4 separate regions of the Homo sapiens genome follow, and all the other regions are linked to region 3. Evidence: promoter capture Hi-C in 16 types of primary human blood cells and fetal thymus (Javierre and others, 2016). All regions are on one chromosome and are shown on one strand. Each heading gives the region's core, a stretch centred on a gene start or on the middle of the fragment in contact. The rest is flanking DNA. Distances are from core to core; before and after follow the strand shown.

Evidence for each region. Contacts are between HindIII fragments. The CHiCAGO score rates a contact against its expected background, and 5 or more counts as called.
Region 1: a fragment that was not itself captured here is called in contact with the fragment with the promoter of EREG in region 3 in 1 of 17 cell types (megakaryocytes); the score reaches 5.2 in megakaryocytes.
Region 2: a contact is called between a fragment that was not itself captured here and the fragment with the promoter of EREG in region 3, in 2 of 17 cell types (M2 macrophages and total B cells). The highest score is 5.4, in M2 macrophages.
Region 4: a contact is called between a fragment that was not itself captured here and the fragment with the promoter of EREG in region 3, in 6 of 17 cell types (total B cells, non-activated CD4 T cells, total CD4 T cells and 3 more). The highest score is 8.4, in total B cells.

The regions. Positions count from the first base shown.
Region 1 is chr4:74,185,562-74,188,431 of GRCh38, reverse strand. The region is part of intron 3 of MTHFD2L (methylenetetrahydrofolate dehydrogenase (NADP+ dependent) 2 like); the gene reads right to left. Among named protein-coding and RNA genes, the nearest start is that of MTHFD2L, 29 kb to the right of the region's middle. The HindIII fragment of the contact is 718 bases long and covers 1,209-1,926 here.
Region 2 is chr4:74,586,732-74,589,517 of GRCh38, reverse strand. No RefSeq gene overlaps it. Among named protein-coding and RNA genes, the nearest start is that of AREG, 140 kb to the right of the region's middle. The HindIII fragment of the contact is 248 bases long and covers 1,306-1,553 here.
Region 3 is chr4:74,363,730-74,366,805 of GRCh38, reverse strand. It overlaps EREG (epiregulin), which reads right to left and starts at 1,661. Exons shown (of 5, transcript NM_001432.3): 1 at 1,431-1,661. The coding sequence starts at 1,497. It overlaps LOC105377276 (a long non-coding RNA gene), which reads left to right and starts at 1,465. Exons shown (of 3, transcript NR_188415.1): 1 at 1,465-1,655. The HindIII fragment of the contact is 3,301 bases long and covers 1,144-3,076 here.
Region 4 is chr4:74,603,804-74,606,748 of GRCh38, reverse strand. No RefSeq gene overlaps it. Among named protein-coding and RNA genes, the nearest start is that of AREG, 160 kb to the right of the region's middle. The HindIII fragment of the contact is 191 bases long and covers 1,462-1,652 here.

The sequences.
Region 1 (2,870 bases), core at 318-2,817, 180 kb after region 3:
GGCCCTTGTGATATGATTTAGTGTCCTTATAAGAAGAGAAACCAGAAAACTTGCTTTCTTCATCATGTGAGGACACAATGAGAAGGCTCTGTCTGCAAGCTAGGAAGAAACTTCTCACTAGAACCCAACCATGCTGGCACCGTGATTGCACACTTTCAGCCTCCAGACTGTGAGAAAATACATTTCTGCTGTTTAAGCCTCTCATTCCATGGTATTTTCTTATGATAGATGAAGCAGACTAATACACCACGGATATGCTGTCAATTCATTAGTTTTCATTTCATATAATTTTATTTAAATGAAATCACAGAGTATATACTCTTGTCTAGATACTTTCACTCAGCATAATTACTTTGAGATTAATCTATATTGTAATATGCATCAATATTTTGTTCCTTAATATTGCTGAGTAGTATTCTATTGTATGGAATATCACAGTTTATTTATCCATTGACCTGCTAATGAACATTTGGGTTGTTTCTAGTTTTTAGTTATCACAAATAAAGGTTCTATGAACATTCATATACAAATACTTGTATGGACATATGTTTCATTTTCTTTTGGGGAAATACACAGGCACGGAATGGCTGGACCAATGTGTGTGTGTGTGTGTGTGTGTGTGTGTGTGTGTAAATACACAGGCACAGAATGGCTGGACCAGTGTGTGTGTGTGTGTGTGTGTGTGTGTGTGTGTGTGTATTTAACGTTTTAAGATACTGCCAAACTATTTTCCAGTTTTCCAAAATGTACCATTTTGCATCTCCACTACAGGAGAACATGATGGTTACTATCCCTCCACATCATCACCAACACATAGTATAGTCAGTTGATATTTTAATTTCAGCCATTCTAATGGGTTTGCAGTAGTATCTTGTTAATACTTTTCATTTGAATTTCCCTAATGACTAATGATGTTGAACATCTATTCATATGCTTATTTACCATTTGTATTTCTTCTTTGAAGTGTCTGTTCAAATACTTTTACCATTTTTGCTCTTGCTATTCTCTCTGTCATTATTTTTAGAAAGTTTCAGCAATGATTATTTCAAAAGTTTTTTCTGTCCTGTTTTCTCTTCTCCTGCTATTCCAAATGCATGTACCTTTTGAAAATATCCCACAGTTCTTTGACATTCTATTCTGGAGCGGTTTGGGTTTTTTTCCTCTTTGTGTTTTATTTTGAGAAATTTCTACTGGCATAACTTCAAGCTTACTGATTCTTTTCCTGGCCATTTCCAGTCTACAGTTGAGCCCATCAAAGCATTCTTCATTTCTGTTAGAGTGTTTTTAATTTCTAGCATTTCTTTTCTAGATATTCTTTTGCATTTGAATATCTGATTGTTCCAGCCAGTACTATGTGTTGAAAATCGCATTCTTTTCTGTACTTATTTGCCTTTCCACTTTTGTCAGAAATCAGTTATCAATATAAGTGTGAATCTCTTTCTGGACTTTCTATTTTGTTTCATTGATCTGATTTTCTATCTTGATTCCAATACTACATTGCTTTGCTTACTGTAGCTTTATAACTCATTTTGACATCAGGCAATGTTAATCCTCCATGTTACTCATTTTCAAAATTGTTTGGACCATTTTAGGTCATTTGCAGTTCCATATGAATTTTATTCAGTTTCTCCCAAGTTTTTACCAAAGGTCACCTTGAACCTACAAATCAGTTGGAGGAAAATTGGTATTTTAACAGTATTTAGTCTTCTGATCCATAAACATGGTTTATTAATCCATTTATTTAGGCCTCCTTTAGTTTGTCTCAGAAATGTTCTGTAGTTTTTAATATATATAGGTTTTCCCCATCTTTTGTCAAATTTATGCCTAAGGATTTCATATTTTTGATGCTATTATAAATGTATATTTAAAATTTCAATATCTGGTTGAAAGTATACAGAATAAAAATCGATTCCTCTATATTAAGCTTGTATCCTTCAATCTTGCTAAACTCACTTATTAGTACTAGTAGCTGTTTTTTTTTTTTTTTTTTTTTCATGGATTCCCTTGAATTTTCCATGGGACAATCATGTCATCTGCTTTTCTTGTCTTATTGTGCTAGTTAGAATTTCCAGTGAAATGTTAAATAGACATGGTAATAGTGGACATCCTTGACTTTCTTGATTGTAAGAGGAAAACACTCAGTGTTTCATAATCAATTATGATGTTGCCTATAGATTTTTCATACATTCCCTTTATCAGCTTGAAAGAGTTCTCTTCTATTATTAGTTACTTGAAAGTTTCTCATCAGGAATTAATGATGAAATTTATCCAATACTTTATCTGTATCTATGGAAATGATTATATGATTTTCATTTTTAGCTTGTTAATATGGTAAAATACATTGTTTACTGTTCTAATGTTAAATTGTATTGGATTCCTGAAAGAAAACACATTTGGTCATGATGAATTGTTTTCTAAATTGTTGGATTTGATTTGTTAATGTTTTGTTAATACCTTTTGAATCTATCTTCATGAAGGATACCGACTCATAATTCTCCTTTCTTGTAATGTCTTTGCAAGGTTTTTAGTAACAGAGTAATGCTGGCTTCAAATGTGTTAGAAAGCATTCCCTCTTCTTTATCACTATTCTTCCTTAAATATTTGGTAAAATTCACCAGGGATGCCATCTGGACATAGAGCTTTCATTGTGGAATGGATTTGAACTACAAAGTCAATTGCTTAACAGAGCTATTAAGACATTTCTTTTTGAGTGAGCTTTGGTAATGTATATCTTTCAAGGAAGTTGTCCATTTCATTTAACTTGTCAAATTGGGATAATGTTACTGAGAATATTCCCTTACTGCCCTTTTAATATCTGTAGAATCTGTAGTGATATTACCACCCTAAGTCCTGGTATTGGTCAGTTGTAT
Region 2 (2,786 bases), core at 180-2,679, 220 kb before region 3:
TCTTTCTCGCTCTCTATTTCTTTCCTTCTGACGGAGTCACACTCTGTTGTTGAGGCTGGAGTGTGCAGTGGCACCATCTCAGCTCACTGCAACTTCCATCTCCTGGGCTCAAGGAATCCTCCCATGTCAGCCTCCCAAGTAGCTGGGACTACAGGCATGTACAACTATGTCCAGCTAATTTTTTTAAAATTTATTTTTATTAGAGACGGGGTTTCGCCATGTTGCCTAGGCTGGTATTGGACTCCTGACCTCAAGTGATCCACTCACCTCGGCCTTCCAAAATGCTGAGATTGCAGGCCACTGCATCTGGCCTTAGCCACAGTCCTTTTCTTTTTCCTTTCCTTTCCCCTTCCTCTTCCCTTCCCTTTTCTTTTTATTTATTTTTCTTTTCTTTTGGAGGGTCTCAGTCGGTCACCCAGTCTGGAGTGCAGTGGCATCTCCATGGCTCACTGCAGCCTCAGCCTCTCAGGATTAAATGATCCTCCCACCTCAGCCTCACAAGTACCTATGACTATAGGTGTGCACCACTATGATGGGCTAATTTTTAAATTTTTTGTAGAGACAGGCTCTCCCTTTGTTGCCCAGGCTGATCTCAGAATTCCTGGGCTCAAGTGATCCTCATTCCTCAGCCTCCCAAATTGTTGGGATTACAGATATGAGCCACTGCACCCTGCCTCCATACTCATTTCTATCCTAGCTTTGTGTTGTATACATGCTTCACAGCACTTAATACATTTTGTTATAATTATTTATTTTCACATCATTCTCGCCTTCTGGTTTGTGAGTTTCTTGACAGAATACTTATGTCACTCACCTCTATATACTGCACATCGTGACAATTTCTGAACTTTACTACGTATTACATGGTTTTTAGATGGACACGTAATTGATCACAATTGAGAGGAGGTCTATAGGCTATGATCTGTACACCAAATCCTGCCCACTGCCTGTTTTTGTAAATAAAGTTTTATTGAAACACTGTGCACCCATTCATTCACATACTGTTTATGGCTGCTTTCTTATTATAACAAGGGAACTGATTAGTTGCAACAAAGATTATATGACTTGCAAAACCTAAAATGTTTATTGTCTGTTCTTTTTCAGAAAAGTTTGCTGACGCCTGATATGGAGCACTAGAAAGAAATTATTTTTCCAAGCATCAACCCGGAAGTCCCAGCATACCGAGGTTAACCAAAACACTTATATTCTGTTCTCTCACAATTCTCTGAAACTACTTCTCTTCTAAAATGTATGACACTATATGGTAACCTATATTTCCCACTAGAATCTGGGAATATGTAAGCTTTATAGGGGTTGTGCATGATATAAGTATTTTTACCTACTTTTTACCTGCTTACCTCTTAGGAGAATTTTGAAAAACCCAGCACATCTTAAAATTGAGATCTAAAATTTTTCACTGGAGATTCAGGCCACTGCACAATACATAACTTTGTGCAAATATAAATATAGACTATTTAAAATAAAACTGTTCCACCCAAGATAATTTACACAACAAAGTGTTTGATATCCACTATTATCCATCTAAAGAAGCTTTGGCTTACGCTTAAGATGAAGAAGGCCACAAGAGAAAACCCCTTCCACTCTAACAATGAGAACAAACCAGAGAGTCTGCAAAATCATGATGTTTGCAGCCCATTAGTGAGCTGAGGTTGCAAGGCCACCTGGTGAGCTAAGACCCAAGGTTGACAGGTCATTCTGAGGACAGCAGGACAGAAACAAGCTGTTGGACATTTATCGCAGCAGTGAGAAGAGATGGCTGCCATAGAATTCTTACTAGTGAGTGTTAGCGTGGTATGCTTCCATAGGAGAAGGCTGCACTCTCCTGCCAACTCTTTCCTTACACCTCTACCTGATGCTTACATGGAAGATCTGGACAGGAACCAGGGATCAAAGGGGCACAAAAAACCTTTTTCCGATGAAGGAATTTTTCTATAGCTTATATTGGTGGTTAAACAATTGATATAATTATCAAAATTCGTCAAAATGAACCACCTAAAAGTGGAATTTATTATATATAAATTATACCTCAAAAAAGCTTAAATATAGGCCAGGTGCAGTGGCTCATGCCTGTAAGCCCAGCACTTCAGGAGGCTGAGGCGGGCAGATCACGAGGTCAGGAGTTTGACACCAGCTTGGCCAATGTGGTGAAACCCGTCTCTACTAAAAATACAAAACATAATTGGGTATGGTGGTGCTTGCCTGTAATCCCAGCTACTGGGGAAGCTGAGGCGGGAGAATAGCTTGAACCCAGAAGGCACAGGTTGTAGTGAGCCAAGATCGCGCCACTGCACTCTAACCTGGGTGACAGAGTGAGACTCCATCTCAAAAAAAAAAAAAAAAAAGCTGAAATAATTTGGAGCAAAAGGAGTGGTAGAATTGTATGAACAATATAATATTCTTTATGTAATTTTTAAAACATGAAAAAATACTACATATTATTTATGGATTACAGTATGCACAGAAATGATAAACACAAAATTTAGGATAGGGATTACTTTGGGGGAGAGAGGGGAAGAATAAGGTAAGAGTATACAGTGAGTGTTAACTGAATATACTGTGCATCATTTCTTTTTCAAAACAAGAAGTAAATATCAATAAGCAAAAGGTTAAGATTGTATATAGTTGGGTGATGACCATATAGAGGTTTGTAATGTTACTTTTCATAATTAATGAAAGTAATTTGAAGTTAAACTTACATAGTACAAAAATTCTAAACAATAAATAACATAATTGAAATTAAGACAAACAAGGGGCAAGAGCTAGAT
Region 3 (3,076 bases), core at 412-2,911:
AATGCAATGAAGGAGGTAAGCACTTTCATGACAACAAACACACACACAACACACACACTAGTGGGTAGTAACCAGGTTATTCACAGGCTCTGGCTGTCTCAAATTAGAATATTCAATGAAACACCCAGAACAGACATGTGCATTGTTCAGATGCAACCTTACATGTGGGGAAAATAATAAGTGCTAAGTTATTCTGACCTCGAGGTTAATTTCTAACTCTAGGAAGACTGTCACCTTTCTAATTTAATTCTTTTCAAAACAAAGACAGCAAAGCCACATTGTTTACTGAGAATCTTCTAGCAAGTCTTTCTTAGCTCAGTTTTGGCAGAAACCACATATCTAGTTTCCACTTGTGTTCCTGGACTTAGACTTGTAAGTTTCAATTATGCATAGTATGCATTTCATTAGGTCTCTCAACCCCTGAGATAAGGTGTGCCAAAATAATAATTTAACAGTCACATCCTTCACAGGTAGAGTTAGAGTGTCTGGGGAATCAGCCTCATTCCAACTCCAGGGAGAATATGAGACTGGTGGTAACTTTTATTTTTTTATTAAGATATTCATATACGACTTCAAACTCTTTCAAATTCCTTAAACTGAAGTTTAAGGAATTGGAAAGAAGTAATTTTTTTTTAACAGAAAGGCTATTTAGAAAATTTTTCCCCTTGAACTAAATCATCTCAAATAGGAAGACTGGCATTTAAATACCCTCAGCGATCACAGGCTATGGAGTGCAATTAGCAGCAAGTGCAGAACGCTTGCTCCAGAGGCTGCTTGGGAGGCTGCAGGGAAAAACGCAAGCAGCAGGTGTAGGGGCGAAGGGCGGTGGGGAGCGCCAGGACCTGCCCAGGGCCCTTCTGCTCCAGATACCCTCGACCAGTGTTTTATTTCTCTTGTGTCTGGAGCTCAGCCAACTGGCACTGGCGCATACCAGCTCCTCCGGGAAAGCTAAACCAGGCTAGGTTTTAGAAAACTGAGCGCAAGACAGAGGAGAAAAGCTTTTTCCCCCCTCCAAAAAATTTCTTACGCTAGTTTCTATTCCCCACTCTCCAACAAAAAGGAACAAGACATGAAATGTTAACAGTGCGTTCCAGGCCTTTAGATTTCTAGGACTGGCAACTTTTCAAAAAAAAAAAAAAAGCTTTTTCAACAACTTTTTATTTTGTTTAATAAGGAGATATTTCAATCCATGCATAACATATATGCCAATAATTAATTCACCAATAAAAAGCATTTTAACATCGATCCCCAGTCCCCCCCACCCCAGTCCCACCATAGGGGAAGACAGACTCACAAAACAAGACGTAATTTTAAATAGAGCACACTTGAACCTGGAGACAACTCCGTACTTGTCGAATGACAAATGCACAGGAGCCTTCCTTATTTGTCTCCTCTTTGGGGCGGCCGGAAGCCAGAGGGGGAGAACTTACCCAGGCAGAGCAGCAGCGCAGGGACCCTGCCGGCACAGAGCATCTCCATCCTCCTCCCCGCGGTCATCGGCGATGGGAGCGGGCGCTGGGGCTTGGCGGAGGGCGGCTGCGGAGAGTGCACGGGCAGGGCGGGAGCAGACGGGCTCGCGGCAGTGGCTGGAGAGCGGCTGTCAGCCTAGAAGGGACCCCACGTTGGCTGTGTCCCTCTGACACTGGAAATATCAGGCAAGTGAGCTCAACTGTCTGGTGCTGCGAACTTTATACTAGGGAGCCCCTCCCGGGCCCTAACGGGGTGAGGTCAAGAGTGCCCAGAGTTTCATAATTGGCCCGAGGGAGGAGCGGCAGGAGGACCGTCAGGAAGTCATCCTCCCTCCCTGGAGCACCTGAGAGTAGTGGTTGAGGAATGAAAAAATGTCTTTCCGATTGGCCGGGGACTACTCCCGAAACTTTTCCATCTCCCTCCGGGAGGTGGGGAGCGTGGACCAGATGGCTTGGTTTGCTTTGTGGGGTCACCTGCCCTGTAGTGGGTGGTTTTGGTTGCTCAGGGTGACGGACATAACTTGAATCAGTCTTTTAGCCAAGGCTGGCGTTCCCCATACATGCCTTTGGAGAGCTGTGCGTGTGACTTACTAACCTCAGCCACGAAAACTCCCTTAACTTGAAGTCTGTCAGTGATTCAAGCGCCCTCCTTGCATTGAAACGCCACCGCCCAGAAAAGCCTTTCCCATCTGCGCCTTCCTTCTGAGACCCCTGCTTCCAATGTGGCTCAGGCATTTATTACCTCAAAGTCGAGTCATTGTGAAGAAAATTCCTGTTATTTTTTTTCCTTCTGTCGTATTTGCCATTTGTCAGGTTGCTGCTTTTGATATGACTTCCTACTAAGTAGTGCCTTAATCCTGTCGCTCCCCTGCACAAAACCTTTCAACGACTTCCTATTGCTTTTTGGACAAGGCCTGCCACAAACGTGAAGCCAATCGGTCTTTTCAACCTCAGCTCCCACTATTTCCCCAGGCAAATTGTCTGACCCCAGCCAGGCTGGAAAACTCTAAGCCTTTCCTCACTCCCACTTTCCTGCCTATGCTGATGGAGTCGTACTTTGAGGCAATGGCTACTTTTTAAAGGAATTAGTGAAATCCTGCTCAAATTCATGGTTCTCCTCAAGGGCCTGGGCTTCTTAGGCTTGTGGATCTCTTTTCATTCTGATCTCTTATAGCTTTTGTCGTTTATCTTCTCCCTAGCCTCATAGAATTCTAGACCCGGTACTTTACACCTGGGAAAGCTACTTTGTATTCCTTGACTTTTTTTTTGTTTGTAAGTCCTATGTTCAGCTCTGTACTGTGTAAATTGTCTTCCTTTTCACTGCACTCCTCTATAGGACCTAAGAACTGTGAGTCAATTCAGCAGTACTGTATGTAAATATACATATTTGAATAGAAAATGGAATCTAATGGATGTTAACTCCTTACCTTTTTATTTCTACTTTTTAAAAAATTATTATTACTATTCCTTTTTTTTTTCTGGCTTTTTTCTCTCATACTCTAAGGCCCTTTAATGTCCAGAATGCTCTTGTTAGAAACAAATACTTCGGCCGGGCGCGGTGGCTCACGCCTGTAATCCCAGCACTTTGGGAGGCCGAGACGAGCGGA
Region 4 (2,945 bases), core at 308-2,807, 240 kb before region 3:
TCAGGTGAAGACCAGCAAGCATCATCTGGAGTAGGCTCAGAAAATTCACATGCAGAAACAGGTGCACAGGTGCTCTTTCTCTTGGCACCCTGCAGAGAGGCATGCTTGGGCTGAGATTCAGTGGAATATAGGGTGGAGCTGAGCTTCATTGGAGTGACCTTGTCATCCTAAAGCTGCCTCTTATATTTGTGCAAACCTGAGAGCACTCTTTATAGTGGGAATAAATATTTTGGGGGCAGGAGCCAAGCAGTTAGAGCTCAGATGCCAGCTGTTTAAAGGAATGATGCAAAATGTCATTTCCCAATGACTAGGCCTTAGGGCCCTCAATCCCATAGGAATTTGGGGTTAAATGAAATGGTGAACCCTTTTTATATTTGGTCCTGCTTGTCTCCACAAAACATTTTCAGTAGTCTACCATAACCATGGTCCTGTAGTTTTGAAAGACTTCTGAAGTATGAATACATTTTATTTAAAAATATTAATGCTATCGATATATAATTTGGTAAAGTATTGGGCAAAGATGATATTCCTCAAGGAGAATTAATTATGCTAGAAGAAAGAGTGACAACAAAAGACATGTGGAAAAGCCCAGTATTTAAGGGCTTGGAGGGGGAATGTTGGATAAAGAGAGTTCATGAGAAGGATGAAGGGAGACTGGGAAGAAACACACACTGGCCAGATAAACGACAAGAATAGAGGGACACCCTAATGTCAAGTAAGACAGTCTATAGAATACTCCCAAGATATTAAAGAGTTAAAGGATTATAGATTATTCTTGTCCCATGTTTCCCTCATTCTAAGACAAGTTCACATTTTAATGCTTCTAATTCTGAATAAGTCTTATAATCTATATATATATATATATATTTTTCTGGTGGTTTTTTGTCCTGTTAGAATATTATTAAATTGATGATGTCTACTTTAATCCATAGATTAAATCCATAGATGGCATCTTGGATCTGAGATGTGGATTAATTTGGAGCTTACTGGAGATTTTACAGAAAGCAATATTTAAACATCCGTAACTATTGTAGTAGGACCACAAGAACACCTGGGAAAGATTCCATCACCTGTATCTCACATGACCAAGAGTTTGAAGAGAAAAAACTATGAAGTGAAGAAAATTACCATTAAGACTTAAGTTAATAACCTAATTGACGAAAGCAGAAAAATAATTCAAGTCATATAATTCAAGTCATATAATTCAAGACAATAGTAAGGTAGCTTGTTCATCGAAGGAGATAGATAGAGCAGAATTACAGAAACAAAATATTGGTATTGCCTATCAAAGCACCCCTCAGGGACTTGGAATCTTGATCAATAAGCTTAGAGTAGGATTGCCTTCCTGACATGGACAGTCTTGGTTTGAAGATTAATTCACCAGGCTGTTTTAGCCTAAAAGCTTAAAATAGTCAAGTTATATAAGACCTTAAACTCGATTCCATGCTAGCATATCAAGCTTCAAATTATAATTTGGCTTTCCTAGGTACATATTCCATATGTTGGGTAGAGTAATTTAATGAAAGGTATATTTTCTATGTAAATTAATGTGCTTACATTCATTCTTGCTTTTGATTTGCTGGTAAAATTAGGTCTCTGGGTCTATGAAGATGTAGGTCAGAACAAGGTGATCTTGCCCCACCTTTGAAGCTTCCATGGAAGACAGATAGCTGCCCTCCTCTAGAAATTTCTCTATCTTATCTTATCACTTATCTCAGAAATTCTGCCACTGTAATTTAAAGAAAAAAGATGATAAGTTTTAGTACAAGGGCTGAGTAATCAAAAAACAACAAATGAGAATATAAAACAATACAAAAATCTCACTTCTATAAAAGCCCAGAAAAGTGAGTGATTAATTTCAGTTTAGGGAACTTTTTTCACTAACGGAAGTGGCCTTTGAGTTGACTTTTAGGTAATATAAAATCAGGCAAAGATGGGATACAAAATACACTTGAGGTATGCATAAATGTTGAAAATTGGGAAAGGATGATCAAAGTATTTACAAAGCAAGTCACTTAAGTTAATCATTATCCAAATGTAAGAAAATAAGCAATTTAAAGTGTACCTTAAAAATATGTCAAAACTGGATCTTAATTAAATAGTAAAATTTCCACATGAAAATGATGATTTATTTCTGGACAAAGCATACTATTCTAAGATCAAACTATCCCAAGTAACCTCAATCCATTTAGTATATCTCAAATAAACAGTGCTATTTTTATTTAAATGTAAATGGTAGATGGATAATAAATGACCAATACAGTAAATCAGGAGTTTCTGTTTACTCTTTTCTTGGGTTAATAAATGTTGCATTTCATATAGGAAGGGTCTAACACTTAGGACTGGATAATTAGCAAAAACAAGGCCCTATATAATGTTTTTGTAATCATGGCTCCATTTACTGAATTATATTAAACAATTCTTTTTAGAGGAGGTAACTGGTACTAGGTCAAACTAAATCAATTTCTGATGGATTACCTCAGAAATCAAATAAGGCAGAATAAAAAAACATTAAGTACCAATTACCTGTCATGCTGTAGAACTGTGCAGGTAGAAAACTGAACTTAATTTAGCAGTTCTAAGAGTGACTTCCTCAATATTAGAAGATAAAATAAATAAGGCATATTTATGTTGAAAACTATAATCTCATTACATTACTGCCTTTGAATTTATGAAAAAGGAAAACATTTTTTAATGTTCCCTTAATTTTCCTCTTATCCATTCTCTAATTTTGCAATTATTAAAATGCACTTAGCCAATTATTGCTAGGGAGCCCACTTGGGTGTGTATTAGAGCATTGTACTCAATAATAATTAATATGTAATATTTTATACTTTATGGTTATATTAGTATTATAACTTGGTTTCTAAAAGAGCAAAATGGACTGATTTTGATTTTTTTGTGTTGAAATTATGCAAATGACAGGTGAATTCTCTTTATTCTTT